Regions from separate parts of the Homo sapiens genome. Here regions 1, 2, 3 and 4 are each linked to region 5. The links are contacts of gene promoters, found by promoter capture Hi-C in human tissues and cell types (Jung and others, 2019). All regions are on one chromosome and are shown on one strand. The core of a region is centred on a gene start or on the middle of the fragment in contact, and the rest is flanking DNA. Distances in the headings are between cores, read along the strand shown. Region 1 overlaps SNTB2 (syntrophin beta 2). Region 2 overlaps TANGO6 (transport and golgi organization 6 homolog). Region 3 holds the start of VPS4A (vacuolar protein sorting 4 homolog A). Region 4 has its middle 16 kb from the start of SNTB2. Region 5 holds the start of ZFP90 (ZFP90 zinc finger protein).

The links. The method cuts DNA at HindIII sites, captures the fragments that hold promoters and counts their contacts. A contact is called where the count stands out against the background at its distance.
Region 1: a contact is called between a fragment that was not itself captured here and the fragment with the promoter of ZFP90 in region 5, in 2 of the 25 tissues and cell types used here (bladder and liver).
Region 2: a contact is called between a fragment that was not itself captured here and the fragment with the promoter of ZFP90 in region 5, in 2 of the 25 tissues and cell types used here (dorsolateral prefrontal cortex and spleen).
Region 3: a contact is called between the fragment with the promoter of VPS4A here and the fragment with the promoter of ZFP90 in region 5, in 3 of the 25 tissues and cell types used here (dorsolateral prefrontal cortex, lymphoblastoid cells and mesenchymal stem cells).
Region 4: a contact is called between a fragment that was not itself captured here and the fragment with the promoter of ZFP90 in region 5, in 4 of the 25 tissues and cell types used here (H1 embryonic stem cells, dorsolateral prefrontal cortex, lymphoblastoid cells and 1 more).

Annotation. Positions count from the first base shown.
Region 1 is chr16:69,194,912-69,198,087 of GRCh38, forward strand. All of the region lies in intron 1 of SNTB2 (syntrophin beta 2), which reads left to right. Among named protein-coding and RNA genes, the nearest start is that of SNTB2, 9.3 kb to the left of the region's middle. The HindIII fragment of the contact is 9,382 bases long and covers 1-3,176 here.
Region 2 is chr16:69,082,409-69,085,523 of GRCh38, forward strand. TANGO6 (transport and golgi organization 6 homolog) reads left to right here. Exons shown (of 18, transcript NM_024562.2): 18 at 1,077-2,774. The coding sequence ends at 1,253. It also overlaps a transcript of HAS3 not described here. Among named protein-coding and RNA genes, the nearest start is that of HAS3, 22 kb to the right of the region's middle. The HindIII fragment of the contact is 8,371 bases long and covers 1-3,115 here.
Region 3 is chr16:69,309,454-69,312,638 of GRCh38, forward strand. It overlaps VPS4A (vacuolar protein sorting 4 homolog A), which reads left to right and starts at 1,897. Exons shown (of 11, transcript NM_013245.3): 1 at 1,897-2,079. The coding sequence starts at 2,059. RefSeq lists enhancers at 769-1,719, 1,720-2,669 and silencers at 1,612-1,751, 1,812-2,361. The HindIII fragment of the contact is 10,929 bases long and covers 1-3,185 here.
Region 4 is chr16:69,169,275-69,172,385 of GRCh38, forward strand. No RefSeq gene overlaps it. Among named protein-coding and RNA genes, the nearest start is that of SNTB2, 16 kb to the right of the region's middle. The HindIII fragment of the contact is 7,652 bases long and covers 1-3,111 here.
Region 5 is chr16:68,537,494-68,540,891 of GRCh38, forward strand. It overlaps ZFP90 (ZFP90 zinc finger protein), which reads left to right and starts at 1,798. Exons shown (of 5, transcript NM_001305203.2): 1 at 1,798-1,986; 2 at 2,265-2,332. The coding sequence starts at 2,300. The HindIII fragment of the contact is 20,432 bases long and covers 1-3,398 here.

The DNA of each region.
Region 1 (3,176 bases), core at 490-2,989, 660 kb after region 5:
ATATTAAGAGATTTAGAAACATTATAGACAGCTGTAAAACAAAAGTCAGAATAATAAATTTGCTTAGGTACAGGTGAGCTTGTTGGAGCTTTTAAAAAATGCTTGACATGTCAAGTGAATAATAAATTATTTTCAGTATTTTATTGGTATTTTGAACATCACATTTCTATGAATTTCAAGCAAGTTTGTAACTGCATTGAGATCATATTTTTATAGGTAGAACAACAAAAGTATATAGAGCTCAACAAAAGTATATAGAGCTCAGGGGCAGCTTTTGAAGTCAGAGACGGAGAAAAATCTTTGTTTATCAAAATAGACGTATATGATTTATTTTTAATTTTTAAAAAGTATCTATTTGTTGTTATTATTTTTTTTTAGAGACAGGGTTTCACTCTGTTGCCCAGGTTGGAGTACAATGGCATGATCATTGCTTACTGCAGCCCTGAACTCTTGGGCTCAGGTGATCCTCTTGCCTTAACCTCTGGAGTAGTTGGGATTACAGGCATGAACTAATTACTGTTCCTGGTTTGCATTTTTTTTTTTTTTTAGTAAGAATTATTTTGGTTGCAGAAACCCAAAACCAACTAATTTAAGCAGAAGTGGAATGTATTGCCTTATGTAACTCCTGAGACCGGGGGTGGATCTAGGTTTAGGTTCAGTGGGATCCAAAGGCTCAAATTATCTTGGCTGCAACATCTCCTGCTGTGGAGGGTCTAATTCTGTATAGTCAGCTAAGATGGTGCCTGCAGCTCTAGGAACATATTGCCTTAACTTAATAACTAACCCCTGTAAGAAAAACTGGAGGGTTCTTTTACCACTCACATTATCAGTTTGGAGATAGGAAGGACTCCAATAGTTCTGCTTTGCCAGTTCCTCGGACCTATCACTATTACCAAAATGATGGAGACTGCAATCTAGACCTGTGTCACGTGCCCATCCCTTGTGTATTGAGGTTGGCAGCCTCACCAGACTATAAAATCTGGAGTGGGGTGGTTGCTAGGTTAACTTATGTACACTATAACAGGCTATAGGGCTTAAAATAATTTTGGCCGGGCATGTTGGCTCACACCTGTAATCCCAGCACTTTGGGAGGTCCAGGTGGAATCACTTCAGCCTAGTAGTTCAAGACCAGCCTGCACAACATGGCGAGACCCTGTCTCTACAAAACATGTAAAAAATTAGCCAGGTGAGGTGGCGAGTGCCTGTGGTCCCAGCTACTTGGGAGGCTGAGGTGGGAGGATCACTTGAGCTCGGGAGATTGAGGCTGCAGTGAGCCATGTTTGAGCCACTATACTCCAGCTTGGGCAATGGAGCAAGACCCTGTCTCAAAAAGAGAAAAAACAAAAGTGGCTAAGTTGTACATTTTTAAAAACAAAAGGAATCAAAATAGATAATAATGACACTTATGGAGAGCTTACTCTGCTAAGCTCTTTATGATCACAACTTTGTTTTTCTTTTCTTTTTCTTTTTTTTTTTTTTTTGAGATGGGGTTTGGCCCTGTCACCCAGGCTGGAGTGTAGTGGTGTGATCTCGGCTCACTGCAACCTCTGCCTCCTGGGTTCAAGCGATTCTCCTGCCTCAGCCTCCTGAGTAGCTGGGATTACAGACACGCGCTACCATGCCCGGCTAATTTTTGTATTTTTAGTAGAGATGGAGTTTCACCATATTGGTCAGGCTGGTCTCGAACTCCTGACCTTGTGATCTGCCCACCTTGGCCTCCCAAAGTCCTGGGATTACAGGCGTGAGCCACCGCACCTGGCCACAACTTATTCTTTTAACAGCCCTGTGAGTCAGGTGGCATCATCCCCATATAAAATATAAATAAATTGAGTCCTGGAAGATTAAACAGTCAGTGCAAGGTTATAGAATTTGTAGGTGATAGAGGCAAGATTAGTTACTCAGATTTATCAAACTACACAGCCTTTGATATTAACCATTATAATAGACTGCCTCTCTGGTGGATCAGTTTGGGTTAAGAAGCTAGCAAGTCTAAAGACAGGATTTATTGTTATGATTGGCTTAATTTTCAGGAAAATTGTGCTTTGGATTCTGTGTTGTTGCATCTATCTGGAGGTTATCCAGTTAATGTCTCTCAGTCTTTTCCTCATTTTTTTTTTTCATGCTGGACCTAAAGCTGTATGTAATTAATCAACTCATATTGAATAACTACACTCTGTTAGACACTCTGAGAGAAATAGAATATGTAAGCCCCAAAGATTTTACTTTTAAGAAGTACCCAAAATGGGTTTGTAAATACTAATAAACTGCACATAAGTGAATCCAAAGTATTTCATACATTATAAGTGGTAGACAAATGCTGAGAGAACTTGGAATAAGTGAGCAAGTAGTAGGAATGTATTTTGGGTCAAGTGAGAGAAGGGTGGGACATGGAATAGGTGTGGGTGGTGGGAAGGATGGAGGGCATGTTTAGAGGGGAAAGGCATGTCTAGAGAGCAAAGACTGGAACAAGCAGTGATGTTCAAACTTCAGCAAACAGATTTGATGAAATAGCCCATTTTCAAGGCTCTGTACCCCTTTTTAAAAATAGTTTAAATATTTTATTAGTAATATAACTGACTTCTGAAATATCTTGTAATAATTGTATTCATTATCTGCAAACTGTTTTGTAATGTAAAAATTAATTTTTCTTTTGTAATTATTCTAGCCAAACTTTTTTGTTACTGCTTTTACTTTTGATATATTACTATGTTATTTTACTTTTGGAAAACACCAGTTTTAACAAAGTAGCATTCTCCAAAGTATATTCATCTTTACAAGTAAATCTTTGCCCAAATGAAACAAAATCTGTTTTACTGAACACTAAATGTCTTTGATTTGCCTCATTTTGCTGTAATTGTTGGCCAGTAAAAGTATTTACATTGTTAGCTCTGTTTTCATTGCAGTAAGGGATGGCAACATTTTAGAAAACCACTAGTAGTGTAGATAATTTTTTTGAGTACTATGGATTCTGTATTGTCTCTTCAAAGATTATTAATTACATTCTAGGATAAAAATACATATTTTTTACAATGAACACAAAGTAATTGAAAAAATTAAACTGGCTCTGGGCAAATACAAATTCTGCTAAAAACAGCAATGAAAGACTAAAGTGAATTCTGGAAACCATTCTTCACCAGAGATGTTTTGATATTGATCTCTGTTGTCCTTTACAATGT
Region 2 (3,115 bases), core at 478-2,977, 540 kb after region 5:
CAGATTTTTAAAGTAGGGGCAAGGAAAGGTATGACTGCTCAAGAAATAGCCTCCTAGGCCAGGCGGGGTGGCTCATGCCTGTAATAGCAATACTTTGGGAGGCCGAGGCAGGCAGATCACAAGGTCAAGAGATTGAGACCATCATGGCCAACAAGGTGAAACCCTGTCTCTACTAAAAATACAAAAATTAGCTGGGCGTGGTGGTGCGCACCTGTAGTCCCAGCTACTCAGGAGGCTGAGGCAGGAGAATTGCTTGAACCCTGGAGGCAGAGGTTACAGTGAGCCGAGATTGTGCAACTGCACTCCAGCCTGGCAACAGAGTGAGACTCCGTCTCAAAAAAAAAAAAGCCTCCTGGGTTTCATAAGATAATTGCCCGTACTGTGGGTGCCAGCAGAGGGCTTTATGGGGATCTGGGGAGGAAAATGCTGGTAATCATTTGCTCTGGGAGCAACCATATCTGGGCAGTCTTGCCTGTCTGTGGTCCTGAGGTCTCTGCCATGCTTTGGGACTGAATAAAGGAGTCTGGGAACTATGATTTGGCCTGGGAGTAAAGGGGAGCAGAAGCCCCAAGGCCATGTAGCTAGGCATGGGGTGAGTGAGAAACACAATGGGAAACCTATCTCAGTACGAGGGCTAGCGCCACCCCTGCCTCCTTCTCCAACCCAAGATGGCCATGCATTATCTTCTTTTTTTTTTTTTTTTTTTTTCTGCACCGTCATGGCTCACTTTAGCCTTGACCTCCCAGGCTCAGATGATCCTCCCAACCCCAGCCTCCTCAGTAGCTGGGACTACAGGCATGCGCCACCACACCCGGCTGATTTTTGTATATTTTGTAGAGATGGGGTTTTGCCACGTTGCCCACGCTGGTCTCAAACTCCTGGACTCAAGTGATTTGCCTGCCTTGGCCTCCCAAAGTGCGGATTACAGGCATGAGCCACTGCACCCAGCCACATTATCTTCAGGAAGTCTGTGGATGTCCTCACAGATCTCCTCAGGCAGGAGGAGAGGGCAGTTCAGTCGTACTGAGAAATGCCGGCACAGTAGACAGGCGGTCATGGCTGTCTCTCTCATGCAGGTGCTGAGCGCCGTCCTCAAGGATCTCTACCACCTGCTGAAGCACGTAGTGTGTCTGGAGCCCGATGACGTGGCCAAGCTCCATGCCCAGTTGGCCCTAGAAGAGCTGGATGACATCATGAAAAACTTCCTGTTCCCTCCACAGAAGCTGGAGAAGAAGATCATGGTCCTGCCGTAGACCTGGCTCCAAGGACGTGGAGGAGGCAGGCAGGGCCAGGCACCCAGAGCCGTGCCCAGGTCTTCCAGCAGGTGGCCCTGCTGCCTCTTGAGTGCTGGCAGCATGGCTGACCCTCGGGGTGGTTTTATGGTGCAGGTCACTTGGGTCTTCAGGGTCCCTTCCGAGGGCATGTGTTCAGCACTCCCGCGTTCAGCCTGAGGGGTGTACAGTTAAGAGAAGACAGTTACAGATCTCATTAATCTACATTTTTCACTGTCCTCTAGCATTGAAAGAAGGATGTCTACCTGGTGAAAGTATATTTTAACATGACTGATGGAATTTCACTAATTGCCCACTCTCTTGGAACTTGAGGAGAAGCGGTTGGCCACCCATATGTCACCTAGCTCTATATTCTTTCAGGCTGAGATTCTTCTTCAGGAAAATGAGGAGCAGAACTGGCCACCCTTGGCTGCTCAAGAGGCATTTCAGAGTAGGAGATGCAGTTGGAGGTGGGGAGGGGAAGGAAATAGTTATCAAATAATGCAAAATGGAATAAAGTTATCTTGGATGGAAAGAACAGGGCTAAATCTGGTCCTCTGGTGTCGAGATGGAAAACTGTGGAGTTGAAGAGGCTCTGATGCCCAGAAAGGACAATCAAGCTGGTTGACTCTTCCAGAGAAGAAGGGTAAGCCCTGTATTTATCCTCCCAGGCCATTCTTCTTCACTCCTGCTGCTGTTTGCAGAGAGTTGCCCTGATTATCAGGAGAAAAGAACCACGAGCATCCAGAGAGTTTACATCCTGCCTTCTGTCCTCTGCTCCTTCAGAAAGATGAATGCCTAGACAATGGGTTCACACTGAATGCAGGCTGGAAAGAATGCATGCTGGTGGCCTAATGCCAGGGCTGTTGAAACAATTTCAGATATAGCACTGTGGTCTCCACTTTATTTCTTTATATGTTTTGGCCGCTGCATTTTGATTGCAGCTAAAAGAGATAACAGAAAGGAGATACTGGCTGGCTGCTTCATATTAGCCCTCTCTGTTGTCAACACCTTGATGAGGCCAACCCAGAGATGCTTGATCAGTCCTCAGCTTTGCAGGGCTAGGTACAGAATTTTATCACAGGATTTTATCACGCTCTCTGGGGTGACTAGATCCACAGGAACCAAAACGCAGTTTCCAAAAGCTCGAGTGACTGAAGGATCTATACACAAACATGGCTATTTGCTAGTTAACAACAGGATATTTCTCTCTGGCCAGATCACAGACATGGTTCTGAGTCAGATCTTCCTTGGTGGCATCCCTTTAAAGAGGCCATCTTATGAACAGGATCACAAGTGAGCTTAGTGAGCAGAGAGTTAGAACAAATCTAGCTAGGTGTGTTTAAGGAATATTTCCATTCAGCTAGTGTAGCTGGATTAATTTCTATTCTCCAAATCAAGGATGTCTAGAAAATGGGCATTGTGGCTTTCAAATCTAAGAAGAATCTCCTTTGGGCCAGCTGGATGTACAATAAAAATGCTTGTTTCTTGGCCTTCCTTTAACTAGACTCCACGCAACCCACTTCAGACCAGCAGATCGAATGTGTTGCACAATCCATTTTACTTACAACTTCATTTGCATTAACCGCATTCCAGTTCTGAGGACAGATCCTGATTGACCACCTTGATTAGTCTAAGACACTATCTAGTCCAAAATCCTCGAGTGCCTCATGAAGCATCCTAGTACCTTTATCTCTATTTATAGATCACCTCTTAATTTGAACTATTTGGCAAGTGGCTGAAAACATCTGTTCTTTATTGATTTTTTTTGAGGTGGGGTCTCACTACGTTGCCCAGGCTATTCTCAACTTCTGGACTCAAGCAGTCCTCCCCCCTCAGCCTCC
Region 3 (3,185 bases), core at 647-3,146, 770 kb after region 5:
CCTCGGCCTTACTCTAATTCGCATGTGCCTGAGTCTCAGCACAAGGCTTTGATTGTTCAGCACAGCTCTCCAGCTGGCTCTATTCGGTGTTGCCTCACAACCAGGCTGTGTCACACACTCTTGGCAGAGATGCCACGATGCCATGCTCTCTTCAGGGTATCATGTGGAGAGACACACGAGGGCCACGCATCCCACCACCAGGGGTGTTCCCTTCGGTCGCGTAGTCAAGCTAATGTCCTCATTGTTTTCTCCTTTGTATTTATTTATTTATTTAGAGATGGAGTTCCGCTCTTGTCGCCCAGGCTGGAGTGCAATGGCGTGGTCTTGGCTCACTGCAACCTCCGCCTCCCAGGTTCAAGCGATTCTCCTGTCTCAGCCTCCCAAGTAGCTGGGATTACAGGTGCCCACCACCATGGCCGGCGAATATTTTGTATTTTTAGTAGAGACAGGGTTTCACCATGTTGGCCAGGCTGGTCTTGAACTCCTGACCTCAAGTGATCCACCTGCCTCGGCCTCCCAAAGTACTGGGATTATAGGCGTGAGCCACCGCGCCCGGCCTCTCCTTTGTATTTAATTAGCATTTTGTGAAGAGAGATTAAGGTGTGCCAATTTTTTGGTTTTTTTTTTTTTTTTTTTTTTTTTTTTTTTTTTTTTTTTTTGGAGGCAGGGTCTTGCTTCATTTCCCAGGGTGGAGTACAATGGCCTGGTCACGGCTCACTACAGCCTCGACCTCCCAGGCTCCAGCAATTCTCCCAACTCAGCTTACGGAGTAGCTGGGACTACAGGTGTGCGCCACCATGCCCAGATACGTTTTTTATTTTTTGTAGCGATGGGGGTTCACCTGTTGCCGAGGCTGTTCTCGAATTCCTCGGCCCAAGCAATCGGCCTGCCTCGGCTTCCCAAAGTGTTGGGATTACAGGCATGAGCCCCCATACCCAGCCTCAACTTGGATGTTTTTTGCCCTCCATTTTTTTTCTCTCACAGGATAGACTTGTGGACAAATGGATCACTTGCCTCTGGTGCGTTTTTTTGTTTGTTTGTTTTGTTTTGTTTCTTAATTTAGCGACGAGGTCTTACTATGTTGCCCAAGCTGGTCTTGATCCTCGGCTCAAGCAATCCTCCTGCCTTGGCCTCCCAAAGTGCTGGAATTACAGGCGTGGGCCAGTACACCCAGCCCTAGAACTGCTTTGATCATTGTATCCCCAGAAACTAGCACACAACGCTGCACACAGTAGGTGTGCATGCCTGTAATCCCAGCTACTCGGGAGGCTGAAGCAGGAGAATCGCTTGAACCCGGGAGGCGGAGGTCGCAATGAGCCGAGATCATGCCACTGCACTCCAGCCTAGGCGACAGAGCAAGACTCCGTATCAATCAATCAGTCAATCAATCCAAGCAAAACAAAACTGGCTTTGAACAGTCAGCGGCATCCCACCAGGGATTGAGCCCCAGTGTGGGGCACACTCTGTTTACATTAGCTAGCTCATTTATTCCCCACAAAAGCCAGACAAGGCAGGTACTAATTATGATCGTGCGATATTAAACATGGAGAAACCAACGCTCTGATAAGTTCGTTTTATTGTGAGAATAAAACTGCTCAATGGGCGCTGTTATTCCAAGCGAGGTCAGGATTTCCGGATTCTACCCCGCTCCGCCCCTGGCCCCGCCCCGAGAATGTACGTCCCGCCAGGCCCCGCCCCGGCCTTGTCCCACCCACCCCGTCCCCGCCCCCTGTCCGTCTCGCCCTAGTCCCACCTCCTCGTCCCCAGTCAGTCCTGCCTCTCGAACCGCCCCCTGCCTTCGCCGAGGCAGGGAGAGGTGCCTGCAGTGCGAGCCGTGGACGCTAGGGGGCAGCCGCTCGGCTCGGGCCCGACCGCTCTGGGCTGCGCTCCTCGCTTGCCCTCGGACTCGGCTCCCGCTGCGAGCGGCCGCCCTGCCCGCGCACCGCGCTCAGCGCCCACCGCCGGGCTTCCCGCGCCGGACCCAGTACCTCGGCTCCCCGGGGCCGGACCGAGGCCGCAAGCAGCGCCGCGGGGTGTGGGGCGGACCCAGGAGATGAAATGACAACGTCAACCCTCCAGGTACTTCGTGCGGCCCGGCCCGACTTCGGAGGCCGAAGGCAGCGGGGCCTGCGGGCCGCAGAGCCGGGCGGCGGGCGGGTGGTCAGGTGGGCGCCTCCCAGCCCCGGCCTCGCGACCCCGCTCCGGCCGCCCCCTCGCCGCTTCCGCCCGTGTCTGTTTCCACGCGCTCGGAGCCGGGTGGCATCTCCACCCTCAGGCCTTCCGGCCCTGCCCGGCTGGCCCAGCCCCAGGGCCGCTTCGTGTAGCCGGCGCCCCGGTACCGCCGTGGGGATCAGCCTCACCCGAGCCGCACAGGCACCCTCAGGAAGCTCGGCCCGGGGTCCGGCTGGGCGTTCAGACAGCGATGCTCGCTCCCTCCTCTCCTGTCTCGCTCCCTCCTCTCCTGTCCCGGGTCCTGGAAGTCCCTCGACCTCACTTCGAACAAGCCCCGGCCCCTTCCCCAATCTTCGACTTCCTCTTCTCGGCCAGCGACCCTTCATTCATTCCCTAGATCCTGCAGGGTGGTGCTGGGATGGCGCCACCTGGGTGAACAACTGACCCACCCTCTAGGTGCTGTCAGTCCTGCGGGGCCAGAAGAGATCAACATGCTCAGGCCTCATTCCGGGGTTTGAATCTCAGCTCTGCCACTCACCAGCAAGTGACCTTGGGCTAGTTTTTTTTTTTCATCTTCGGGTCTCGAGTTTCCTGGTCTGTAAAATGGGGTAATGCCCTCTAGGTTGTTGTGATGATAGCTTTAAATTGAATAATTACGGTAAAGCATTCTTGTATGTCTGGCACATAGTAGGTGTCCATTAAGTGACAGCCAACAAAGTGCCTGGGAGAGTTAGGCAAGACTTCATGGAAGAAGGGACATCAGAGTTCCAGTAGCATTCAGAGACCTGGAGGTGGAGGAGGGCAGAAGTAGGAGCAGACATGGAATGAGTTGGGGTACCAGGTTAGGAATTAAGAGTCCATAGCCAGATCCCACCGTACCACCAGCAGAAGCCGCAGATCCCGTCTGCCCAGGCAGGTTTTTTATGGCCCGTGAACCGAGAATGTTTTTCAGTTTCAAACACAGGTGTATTTATTTATTTTTAAATTTTATTTATTTATTTTTTTGAGATGGA
Region 4 (3,111 bases), core at 247-2,746, 630 kb after region 5:
CCCCAGCCCATGGAACTGCGTAGGAATCTGCCCATCCTCGCCCTGGAGGGCAGAGGACCGTAATTACTTACCCAGGATAGCCTGACCACTAATAACCATAATCAGCCTTAGAGTTCAAGGAAGAATTTCAACTCCAGCATTATAAGGGAGTGCTCCATCTAAAAAATAGATGCCTTTGACCTTTGACAGTCAGCCGTTAATTTTATTTAAAAGTAAAAAAAGCTTGGGTTATCAGTCCCATTAACTGCCTTTTTACCTGTTATGTGCTGGTTTCAAAAGGTATGGAAGGGCCAGGCATGGTGGCTCATGCCTGTAATCCCAGCATTTTAGGAGGCCAAGGTGGGAGCATCCTTGAGTCCAGAGACCAACCCGGGCAACATAGGGAGACCCTATCCCTAAAGAAATACAATATGAAAAAAAAGATACAGGAGCTGGGCACACATCAGTAGTCCCAGCTACTCGAGAGGCTCAGTGGAGCCCAGGAGCTTGAGACCATAGTGTGCTATGATCATACTGGTGAATAGCCACTGCACTCCAGCCTGGGCAACATAGTGTGAGACCCTGTCTCTTTAAAAAAAAAAAAAAAAAAAAGGGTAAGGAAACACTGGGCAGGAATTTTGTTAGGGATTAAGAGTAGAGATGGGGACCCGAGAGCCCACCATGTATTTCACATTTTTCATTCTCTTCTACCTGCTCTGACATTGTTATTCCCACGTGTGTTATCAACTGGCCAGTTTTAATGTGATCTTTAAATTAGAAAGTGAAGAACTCTAGTTAACTAAACTGAGCAGATAGATTTCTTTCCCTTCTCGGGATGTATTCTGTTGCATGCCTGCGTAAACCCAGTTTGTGTGGTTTTTGTTTGTTTTGGGGATGGAGGGCTGAAGTGTGGGCAGAGAAGTGTGTGGGTTCTGATAACATCTTGAATGAAGGGTTGGTGAAAAACATTTTGCTATGATTAGCCCCACCCTCCATTCTGGAAAGGGAAAATAAATGAGGATTTAAGGTAGATGTTTGGGGGGAGAATTAACAGAGAGAGAGAGGTTATAAGAGAGATAAACAGAGCCCAATAATTTATCACATAAAGGACAGCCTATTTTAGGTTTGATAAGAAAGAACAGATATGATAAGATTTATAATGGATGTCTTTGCCTCTGCCCCACCTGTTAGGTTTTACAGTGATAGGAGTAATTTAAACAAATACCTGCTGGGCGCCATGGCTGTAATCCCAGCACTTTGGGAGGCTGAGACTGGCAAATAGCTTGAACTGAGGACTTTGAGACCAGCCTGGGCAACATGGTGAAACTCCATCCCTACAAAACATACAAAAATTAGCCAGGCGTGGTGGCAAGCACCTGTAGTCCCAGCTTCTCAGGAGGCTGAGGTGGGAGGATTGCTTGAGCCCAGGAGGAAGAGGCTGCAGTGATCCCTGAGCACGCCGCTGCACTCCAGCCTAGATTTTTTTGAGACCCTCTCTCAAAGAAAACAAAATACCTGCAACTTTTTAGGTCACCTGTGTAAAAAAAAACTTGCCTCTTGTTGAATACATTTTTTTCTGTAAGGTATATTTTTCCAGTCTGGATTAGACTGGACTATTAGGGACCTTTTTAGTTTACTGAAGATTCTGTCCTTTCTAAGAAATGTTTTAAGTGGTTGAAATGACAAGTTCAAGTTGCTGGTCTACATTGAATACTTGTGAACAGATGGAGGCTAGGATGCCTTAAATAGTAACTCACTTGTGGCCCGGTGCAGTGGCTCACACCTGTAATCCCAGCACTTCGGGAGGCCAAGGCAGGCAGATCACTTGAGGTTCAGGAGTTCAAGCCAGCCTGGCCAACATGGCAAAACCCCATCTCTACTAAAAATACAAAACTTAGCCAGGCATGGTGGCACACGCCTGTAATCCCAGCTACTTGGGAGGCTGAGGCAGGAGAACTGCTTGAACCTGGGAAGCAGAGGTTGCAGTGAGCCAAGATCGCACAGAGCGAGACTCCATCTCAAAATAAAATAATAAATTAACTCACTTGCTTTTCACTCGTTGTAGAGCTGTAAATTCAGAGAATCCTTGTCAACTGGAATCTAGTTTATGGCTTAACTTACTTAAATTCTAAAATCTTGTGGGTTGTGGAGGATGTAATTCTCACAGAGAGAGCCCACAGATCATCTGAATGAGGAAGTAAAAGTTCTGAAAGTAGAAAGCATTCCTTTTCAACTTTTCCAGCCAGTGATTTGTACTTCCTTAAATGGTATGGGAAGTAAGTGCTTTGGGCCTTGAAATTCTTCCGAAGTAGAAAACTTGGAATACAAATGAAGCAGAAACTGACTAGGGCAAGTTAGAGAAATTGGGGGAAGGGAAGGGAGGGGAAAGGAGGGGAGGGAATGTGAGGGGAAGGGACTGTGGGAGAGGGGAGAGGAGGGGAGGGGATGTGAGGGGAAGGGAAGGGAAGGGAAGGAAAACCAGTATTAAAAAAGGGGAACGCTTTAGTGCATGGGTTTCAGGGTGTTTTTACTTTGGGGGTTTGTGTAACCTAGACATTTAAAACGTTTCCCTCTTGGCGTTATGTTTCTGTTTTGGCCATTTTGCATACCTCTGCTCATTCTTGGGTTCTACAGAAAAATTCTGATTTGAAACCAGCCCAGGAACGGTCTTTTTTGCCAATCTGACTCAAATGCTTTAAAAATTCACTCTTCTCATGTACTGGTTAGTAAACTAATCTCTGAATGGATAATTCACATGTACCGTGGAGAGTATAGCAAATTCAACTAAGAAGAACTAAAATCTTGGAATATTGGAAGATAGAGACCATCAAATTTGGGGGTTTTTAGGCTTTCTTTTGAGCATCAACCTTTCTTTAAATGGTACTTAATACCGAACCACAATGTATGCTGTAGATAAAAATGAAGTTATTCCTATTGGGTGGAGATGAAGCAGGAGTTTGTAAAAGAAACGTGACTCTCAGTCTCATTTTTTTTCCTTTTTTTTTCTTCTTTTTTTTTTTTTTTTGAGACAGTCTTGCTCTGTCACCAGGCTGGAGTGCAGTGGTGCGATCTCGGCTCACTGCAACATTCGCCTTCTAGATTCAAGCGATTCCCCTGCCTCAGTCCCAAGTA
Region 5 (3,398 bases), core at 548-3,047:
ATACTTGTGAATTATGCATTCTGCTAATTCCAGACCACTATATTCACAAAGCAGTGATAGAAAGCATTCATTAATTTTTATATATATTTTTTGAGACAGTCTCGCTTTGTCGCCCAGGTCGGAGTGCTGTGGTGAAATCACAGCCCACCACAACCTCTGCTTCCCGGGTTCAAACGATCTTCCCACCTCAGCCTCCCAAGTAGCTGGGACCACAGGCGCACACTATTGCAACCAGTTAATGTTTGTATTTTTTGTAGAGACAGGGTTTTGCCATGTTGCCCAAGCTGGTCTTTTAATTCCTGGGCTCCTCCCTCCTCAGCCTCCCTGTGCTATTGACGTGTTATTTCATTACTTGTTAGCCCCTTGCGCAGGATTTTGTGTTTGGGACAAGCCAACAGTGATGGAAATTTTCTCCCTTTTTTGTTTTGTTTTTTTTGAGATGGAGTTTTGCTGTTGTTGCCCAGGTTGGAGTGCAATGGTGCAATCTCGGCTCACCACAACCTCTGCCTCCCAGATTCAAGCGATTCTCCTGCCTCAGCTTTCTGAGTAGCTGGGATTACAGGCATGCGCCACCAAGCCTGGCTAATTTTGTATTTTTAGTAGAGACGAGCTATCTCCATGTTGGTCAGGCTGGTCTCGAACTCCTGACCTCAGGTGATCCGCCAGCCTCAGCCTCCCAAAGTGCTGGGATCACAGGCTTGAGCCACCGCACCCGGCATAAAGCATTTATTTTTGAATGTTCATATTTTTGATAAAGCAGTGTGACATCAGGAACATTTCGTTGCAGTCATTTTCTACCATGTTGGTATGCAATGCTCTAATGTTAAGAAATCAAGCTGAAATCTAGGAAATGTAGCCTGAATGTCTGTGATATATAAGACATAATTACATAAACGTAATAGCTGTATCTAAAAGTTGACCTATCTTTGTGTTGAAAATTTCCATCGGGCCGGGCGCGGTTGCCCATGCCTGTAATCCCAGCACTTTGGGAGGCCGAGGCGAGTTCGAGACCAGCATGACCAACATGGAGAAAACCTGTCTCTACTAAATATACAAAATTAGACGGGCCTGGTGACGCATCGCATGCCTGTAATCCCAGCTACTCGGGAGGCTGAGGCGGGAGAATCGCTTGAACCCAGGAGGCGGAGGCTGCGGTGAGCCAAAATCGCGCCATTGCACTCCAACCTAGGCAACAAGAGCGAAACTGTGTCTCAAAAAAAAAAAAGAAAATTTCCATCATTGTTTGCTTGTCCCAAACAAAATCCTGCGTAAGGGGATACGAAGTAATGAAATAACACGGCAGTAGATCTGCCTTTGCACATTGCTCAGGAGGCCACGGATTTGTCCGAAGTTTCTTTTTTCTCTAAAATGAGAAATGGAAAATTGCCTTTTGAAGAAGATGTAAATGCCCCACCCTCTGACGCTGTCTCACTCCCTTCCTGTGTCACTCTTACCGCTGAAGTCAGGACCTGACATTATCTTGTTGACATGTTTGCGTTTTTATCGTCAGCCTCGTCGAAAGGGGCGTACGATTGCTCCCCGAAACCAGGGTCTTTCCCGGCCGATTCCCCAGCTAGCAACAAGCCCCTTGCAAAGAGGAGGCGGACAGTGACTGGAATACAGGGACACGCACACTCGAGCCACACTGGCCGCCTCCCTCGGCCCTCGCAAGGGTCCCTAACGCGCCTTCGGAAGCCGCCTAGGCGGGGCCTGCGCGCGCGGGCCTCTGGGAAGTGTAGTTCGCGCGCCCGGCGTGGACCCGGGGTTGCAGGAGCGAGGCTCCGAGTGCGCAGGCGCACTTCCAGTTCTGCCCCACCGCTGCGGCCATTGTCCGACCCCGGTGCGGCTGAGGCCCCTTTGGGCAGCCCCTCCGCAGATCAGAATTGGAGATAACCGAGGCTTCGGCGGGGGCGGGAGGAGCTGCCCGAGGCTCTGGGTGGGCCGGAGGTCGCGAAATCCGGAGCCCCCCAGAGGCGGTGATTCTGAGTGCGCGGGTCTGGGCGGGACCCCTCCTGGGTTTGGCGGGTGTCAGCCGGGCCTCGCCCACCACCCTGCGAAGGGGACTGGGCGTGGCCGGAGGGGGGTGTCCGGGAGGCCGCTGAGCCTTTCATTTCGGGGATGGGGAGCGGCAGGCCCGGGCTGGTTCCACGGTCCTCGCCACCATCTCCCCTGGAGATGTGGTTTAGGGGCGGAGGTGGGGCGGGGCGGGGCGGGGTGGGGTCGGTGTTGCAGCGGGGTGAGTGGGCCCTGTCCTTTCTCCCCAGCTCCTGCCCCGGAGCCGGGCCCTGGCGAGGCAGGAATGGCCCCGAGGCCTCCGACCGCCGCGCCCCAGGTGAGCAACGCGTTCCTAACCTCCTGGGCATCCCATCCATCTATCCATCCCATCTCCCAAGGGTGTTTGGAGCAGTCATTGTTCTCTGCCTGGCGACTCCCTTACTTGCTTGGCTCGATCGGAGCCTCCTGGCCATGGAAAACCCCAGGCTTTGGGGAGCTGGATTCCCAAAGGGGAGGCTGCTCTGTGGGGTAGAGAGGGCCAGTGTGGTGCGATCTTGTGGGAGGAGTTGAGATTGGATGCGTTGGGAAGTGTCAGTTTTGAGAGTCCTGAATGCCACGCCAGTTTTTTGAACTCTTGTCAATAAGAAATGGAGAGAGTGGGGTCACAGGATGGAACACTGTAGAGGAGGAAGTGACTGTCGGCAAGTGTGGAGAGAGGAGCCCCAGCTTCTGACCCAGGGCCCATAGAGAGTCCGTAAGGGGCCGTAGAAGCCTGGTTAGAACATGTCTAGGAAGAGGCTGGAGATGGGCTTTCTTGGGCAAGGAGGCAAAAACAAAACAAAATAAAAAACAACCAAAAATAAAACCAGGGCTGATTCTCCCAGAGCTTTTTGTGTCTGTCCTTTTCTGCTTTAACAAAAATGTAATAGAGCAACTCACTCCCCACCGCCAGAAGTCCAGCCTTCACCTTAATGTGAGGCTGATTCGTGAACCCATTTATTCTTGTGGCAGAGGGGGCATTTTCTAGAAGCGTCACAACTCTAAGGTTATCCATTGATTTACATATTGGTGAAAATACATCAAGATCCAGATGGTATCTGTATCTTTGAATCTACATTCTCTTTAGAATTAAGGGAAAATGACAGATTGTAGTTGCTAGGTGTGTGAGACATCAAGATCAATTCAAATAAAAATACCAAGTTGCCAGGTACAGTGGGTCACACCTGTAAGTCCAGCACTTTGGGAAGCTGAGGCAATAGGATCGTTTAAGCCCAGGAATTTGAGACCAGCCTGGGCAACATAGTGAGACTCCGTCTCTGCAAAAAAAAAAAAAAAAAAAAAATTTAAAAGATAAAAACACCAACTTAGTAATGTCCTTTAAAAGAGCAGTTTATAGTGAATTA